2 separate regions of the Homo sapiens genome follow, and region 2 is linked to region 1. The links are contacts of gene promoters, found by promoter capture Hi-C in blood cells and fetal thymus (Javierre and others, 2016). All regions are on one chromosome and are shown on one strand. The core of a region is centred on a gene start or on the middle of the fragment in contact, and the rest is flanking DNA. Distances in the headings are between cores, read along the strand shown.

Region 1 (2,860 bases), core at 201-2,700:
CTGTGTACCCCACCAAACAAGATTAGTTCAAGTTAAAAAGAACCTACTGGAGGTAAACTGGGAGAGCAAGTGTTGGATCTGGGCTGGTCCCTTTCCCATAAAATTAGGTCCCTGGTTGTATGTTCCCATAGCACCCCATACTTCCTCTCTCAGAATAATCATTTCCCTTGTAATGCTCAGCATCCGCATCCTGCTTGACTGCAAACTTGCTGAAGGTAGGGACTGTTTGTCTTGGACTTCGCTGCCAGTCCTTAGAACAGTGTCTGGGACACAGTGTGTTCTCAAATATTTGTTGCTGGAATAAATGAATGAACTAAATCAGTCTTTTAGGGATTTACTGTTAACCACCATGGGAAAATTAAATAAATGCGGGGAAGGAAAACGTTCTAAAATTAGAAGACTACTTTCTACTCTCAGCTTCTGATTCCCTCTGAGCTAAGAACCAGACAGCCTTAGGCTGGTAACTCCTATAAGCTGGTCCTCCTCCCATGCTGACCCCATCTTTACTGTACAATTCACTTTTCATGGACTGAAGGCACCACCAAGATAGATCCAGGAGTGACAACTCCAGTGTAGGTGTCCACTGTTCCCTTAATCTCTGTCCTGCTCCAAGTATAAATAAATTGGGGCCATTTCCTTAGATATTGGGGTTTTCTCAAGAAATCCTTTCCCTTCGTGGCATGGGTCAAATCGCTGGTAGTTAAAAAGGTGTTAACTCTTACGTGAAATAACACTTTTTCTTTGTAATGACCTGACTGGAAAGCCTCTGTGTCATCACTTCTCATTTCTTATTTGAAATCAGCAAACTGGATTCAGTAGACATGAACTTAAGCCCCATGAAAGTGGGGGTTTTGTCTGTTTTGCTCACTGCAGTACCTCCAGGGCCTAGCAGCATGACTGGCACATATTTGTTCAAAGTGAATACTCACACCTTCACACCCTCCCTAGAGAGCTGTTGTAGGCCTCTCAAATGTAGGATTTAGGGAAGTCAAGTTAAAAAAAATTAAAACGTTTCAGCACCACCCACAGGTGAGGCTATTCTGCAAAATATGTTGTCTTGAGGTATGTTTCGTCTGGACAAAACGTATTTCCACAGACACAAATCAAAGGTGTTTATTAACTGCTGTGTGCCCTGTTTCTGGATTCCCAGTCAAGTGGGACACCAGACGTCATAACACAGGGAGGACGTTCGGCGAAGCAAAATGAGGGCAGCAGCGGGAAACCAGTTTCACCAGGTTCCGCCTTTTCTCGTTTACTTCCGCCCTTCCCAGTTCCTAAGCCGACAGATGGGGCCGCGTTCAGTCTGGCCGGAAAGGGCGGGCCGCACGGTGGCCCAAACTTCCGGCGCGCAGTAAGGCTGCCTAGCTAGTGATTCTAACGCGAGGCGCGCGAGCGGCTGGATGACGTCACGGAATGGGGGGAAAGAGGGCGGCACTCGAGTGGGTGCGCATGCGCAAGAAGGTGCCTGCGGGACTGGAGCAGAGCGGGCTGCGAGGGTCTTCCCAGCGCAGGCGGGTTTTCCAGTGTTACTTGCGGCTGGGCGTGGGGGACTAGCTGCCTTTCTGGCAGCAGGCAGGAAGCCGCAAAAAGTTTCTGAGCCCCCGAACCTGTAGCGGACGTGGAAAAAGAACGTATGTGAGACAGACTTATGCCTCATTTAGCAAATCACTATAACATGCTCTGGTGTGGGGTGTGTGGATCGGAGAAATCTCATCTTCCGAGGGTCCTTGATGTCGGACAGAAAGGGAAGGCGGGGCCAGCAGAAGTTAAAATACTACCCTTCTGCAGTTCTAGTGGATTTCATTCATTCATTTTTATGTGTCAGGGTGAGATGGTTGTTAGTCCACATTCTGGTGTATATTAATCAAATTACTATTCTTATAACTATTCTCTGGCGGGAAGAGTAGGGGAGTTGTCAGTGGAAAGGATACATTTGGAACTTGGAGCTCTGTCCCAGAAGGGCTTTTGGGCGAAATGCTGTGAATTTTGCCAAACACTGCCCCGCCTCCGCCTCTGCCCCAAATTCCCTACGGTTTGAACCAGAGAACGTAATTTGCAACAGGTGAAATTTAGAATAAAAGCCAGAGGGAATATAAATCTAGCTATAAGGCTAGAAAAACACACGAATTTATGATTGAGGGAGACCAAGTCAACCAGAAAAATCAAGCAGCATCGGTGAAACTATCTTGTCTGGGCTGGGTCGCCATTTCAAAGCAGGGAGGGACAGAATAACCTTTGGAAGATACCGCGATTTAACAGGAAGGCTGTTAATAATTCCCTGCTCCTGCTTTGTTTCTAGGCCCCTCCTCAAGTGTCTGGCTGAAAGATGCCACCCAGGGAAGGGAACTCGGGCTAGCTAAGGAGGCCATTCTTGATGTTGCTTCTAGATCTCATGTCATCACCGAGCCCTCAGCTGCTGGTGGCAGCTGCTCAGCAGACCCTTGGCATGGGAAAGAGACGGAGTCCACCCCAAGCCATCTGCCTTCACTTAGCTGGAGAGGTGCTGGCTGTGGCCCGGGGACTGAAGCCAGCTGTGCTCTATGATTGCAACTGTGCAGGGGCATCAGAGCTCCAGAGCTATCTGGAGGAGCTGAAGGGGCTTGGCTTCCTGACTTTTGGACTTCACATCCTTGAGATTGGAGAAAACAGCCTGATTGTCAGTCCTGAGCATGTATGTCAGCACTTGGAGCAGGTGCTGCTTGGTACCATAGCCTTTGTGGATGTTTCCAGCTGCCAGCGTCACCCTTCTGTCTGCTCCCTGGACCAGCTTCAGGACTTGAAGGCCCTCGTGGCTGAGATCATCACACATTTGCAGGGGCTGCAGAGGGACTTATCTCTAGCAGTCTCCTACAGCAGGCTC
Region 2 (2,860 bases), core at 141-2,640, 3.2 Mb before region 1:
TATATATTAAATAAGATGTCTTTAAGCGGAAACACACATACAACAAAACTATGTATTGATTAAGTTGATGAAAATGCGACCAGAGGCTTACAGGATCCTAATCCTGTATTTCCCTTAGGAGTAATGATTCAGTATTTACTAATTCAGTGTTTCCAGCAACTTTACAGAACCTAACTACTGCAAATAACAAGAATCAATTACATACTGAGGGAAAGGTTTTTTTCAAATACACTTTACTTCCTTTTATGCACCAGGGATAAGAAAAGCCTTCCCAAGAAATTACCACTGTTTCAAAGAGCCTATAAAAGCAGTGCTCCTGCCTTCTAGTATCCTTTTCCCCTCTACTCTCCACACTTTATTCTTTCTCGGTTTCTCTCTTCCTGTTTCTTGCAGGGTCTCCACTTAAATAATGTCTTTCAACAATCTACAGTCCTATAATACATTTAATAAAGGTGGACACACAAGACATACAAGTACTTTTTTTTTTTTTTTTTTTTTTTTTGAGACGGAGTCTCGCTCTGTCGCCCAGGCTGGAGTGCAGTGGCTCGATCTCTGCTCACTGCAAGCTCTGCCTCCCAGGTTCACGCCATTCTCCTGCCTCAGGCTCCCGAGTAGCTGGGACCACAGGCGCCCGCCACCACGCCCGGCTAATTCTTTGTATGTTTAGTAGAGACGGGGTTTCACCGTGTTAGCCAGGATGGTCTCGATCTCCTGACCTCGTGATCCGCCCGCCTTGGCCTCCCAGAGTGCTGGGATTACAGGCGTGAGCCACCGCGCCCGGCCCATACACGTACATTTTAAAGTGAGAGCTATGGCTGTGCTTCCGCAACATTAATTGCAAAATTCTGTGGTACCTCAGTTCCATGGGCACCCAGAGGATGCGTTGTTCAGCCTCAGCTGGGAATCTGCACTTTGGGCAATTAAAAATTTTCACTGCTCTGTTTATTTCTGCCGGGCGCGGTAGCTCACTCCTGTAATCCCAGCACTTTGGGAGGCCGAGGCGGGCGAATCACTTGAGGTCAGGAGTTCGAAACCAGCCTGGCCAACATGGTGCAACCCTGTCTCTACTAAAAATTCAAAAATTAGCCGGGTGTGGTGGCTCATGCCTGTAATCCCAGCTACTTGGCAGGCTGAGGCAGGAGAATCGCTTGAACCCGGGAGGTGGAGGTTGCAGTGAGCCGAGATCGTGCCATTGCACTACAGCCTGGGCGACAAGAGCGAAACTCCATCTCAAAAAAAAAAAAAGAAAGAAAGAAAGAAAAAGAAAAAAAAGAAAGTTTATTTCTGTTTCTTTAAGACGAAGTTCGGGTGTTTTGCCCTCTTCAGAAATGGTTGCACGCGCGTCCCACGCTCTGCGCATGCTCCTTGAGCAGAATTCCGGGTTAAGGCATTCAGGGACTCTGACTGCGCAAGATGGAGTGTAGGCCGGCCGGCGAGACTGCACCTCCCAGCATGCCTTGCAGCCAGGACTGGAGTCGGTACTTAAGAGTGATGGGGTTCCCTAGATACTTTAGGCCGTCGCATCGATTATAGAGATTGAGGTGGAACCCGGGGCCTGGGAACTGGACGCACGCGGAGGGCGAAGATGGAAGCCTGGCGCTGTGTGAGGAAGGGCTACGGCCACTGTGTGGTGGGAAGAGGCCGGTCAGTAGGGCTGGGTACTCGGAGGGAGGAGAGAGGGGCGGGCGGCCTGAAAGAGCGGGCGGGCGTCCGGGACTAACCCGGGGCGGGGCGGGGCGGGCTAGGGGTGGAAGGAAGAGGAAGAGGGTCTGGGCGATGGTGCATCCGGGACGAGCCTCCAGAGACCAAGCGGGATAGGTAAACCCGCCGCGCAGCTGGCGGGACGCTGGGCCAACGAGGTCTGGGGTCTTGGCGCGGAGTTCATGGGCCGCCGGCCAGGCTTGTGCCAGTGGCTTTGGATCCCTGGCCTGCTTCCCCCAACCCAGCCTCCAGACCAGCGCTGGCCTGCTCCACACACTCCGCAGCACCGTCCCGGGAACCGAGCGTCGGCGGGGAGGCCGCCTCTCCGCAGTAGGTCTCGGCGGGCCTGATCCCTTGGAGGCGCGTGTGTGGCACACGCCCAGGAGGGGCTTGATTTTTGTTGATGTGTTAGTGTCTTTCAAACTTTAGTCACTTGTATGTCATCCCTTACTGTTATGGCCAAGTTCTTGTTTCACGTGTATTATTTACTGGATATTTTTCTTTAAATTGACTCAGTTTTTTTTAAAAAGCACTTCAGTAGGTGCTGCCCACATTAGCTTCACCCTAAGCAGTGTCTGCAGAGTCTTGGATTTGATGTGCGATTATGTTTTTTCCTAATAAACTAACATAAGTATTTAGAAATTACAATCAAGTAATTTAACTGTGTACTCTGTGAAACCGACTCGTGTACCACCCACCACGCTTGGGAAACACAGCATGTATTATTACATAAGCGATGGGGATTTGGTTGTAACTCCCATAGGCCTGGGACTTGATGGTAATTCAGTTCAACAATGTTTCCTGAGTACCAGCTGTTTGCCAGGCACTGTGCTAGGCACTTGTGAAGATAACGGAATTAAAATGAATAAGACGGTTCTGTTCTGGCCCTGAAGGAGCTTAACATCTTAAGAGAAAAAAAAGTCTGAATAAATAACTGCAAATATAGATAATAGCTTTTGTAGTACAAGTATTATATTTCAATACAGTGGCTTATTAGCATAGAAAATGCATGGACCAAGTGCCCAAATTCCTATGGCTTTCAGAGTTATCACAAAGCAGTGTAGAATGCCCATGTTATGCCTTTAAAGATTTACAATTAAGTAGATTTTAGAGAACAACTAGCGAATACTTAAACTGTAAAAATTATAATAAAAATTTA

Evidence for each region. Contacts are between HindIII fragments. The CHiCAGO score rates a contact against its expected background, and 5 or more counts as called.
Region 2: a contact is called between the fragment with the promoter of ANGEL2 here and the fragment with the promoter of C1orf74 in region 1, in 3 of 17 cell types (non-activated CD4 T cells, total CD4 T cells and naive B cells). The highest score is 7.8, in non-activated CD4 T cells.

What each region holds. Positions count from the first base shown.
Region 1 is chr1:209,783,149-209,786,008 of GRCh38, reverse strand. C1orf74 (chromosome 1 open reading frame 74) reads left to right here and starts at 1,450. Exons shown (of 2, transcript NM_152485.4): 1 at 1,450-1,631; 2 at 2,300-2,860. The coding sequence starts at 2,375. IRF6 (interferon regulatory factor 6) reads left to right here. Exons shown (of 9, transcript NM_006147.4): 9 at 1-392. RefSeq lists enhancers at 512-1,127, 1,312-1,571, 1,128-1,745. The HindIII fragment of the contact is 4,418 bases long and covers 1-2,860 here.
Region 2 is chr1:213,014,397-213,017,256 of GRCh38, reverse strand. It overlaps ANGEL2 (angel homolog 2), which reads left to right and starts at 1,390. Exons shown (of 9, transcript NM_144567.5): 1 at 1,390-1,644. The coding sequence starts at 1,586. RefSeq lists enhancers at 1,355-1,664, 1,377-1,964, 1,965-2,553. The HindIII fragment of the contact is 5,816 bases long and covers 1-2,860 here.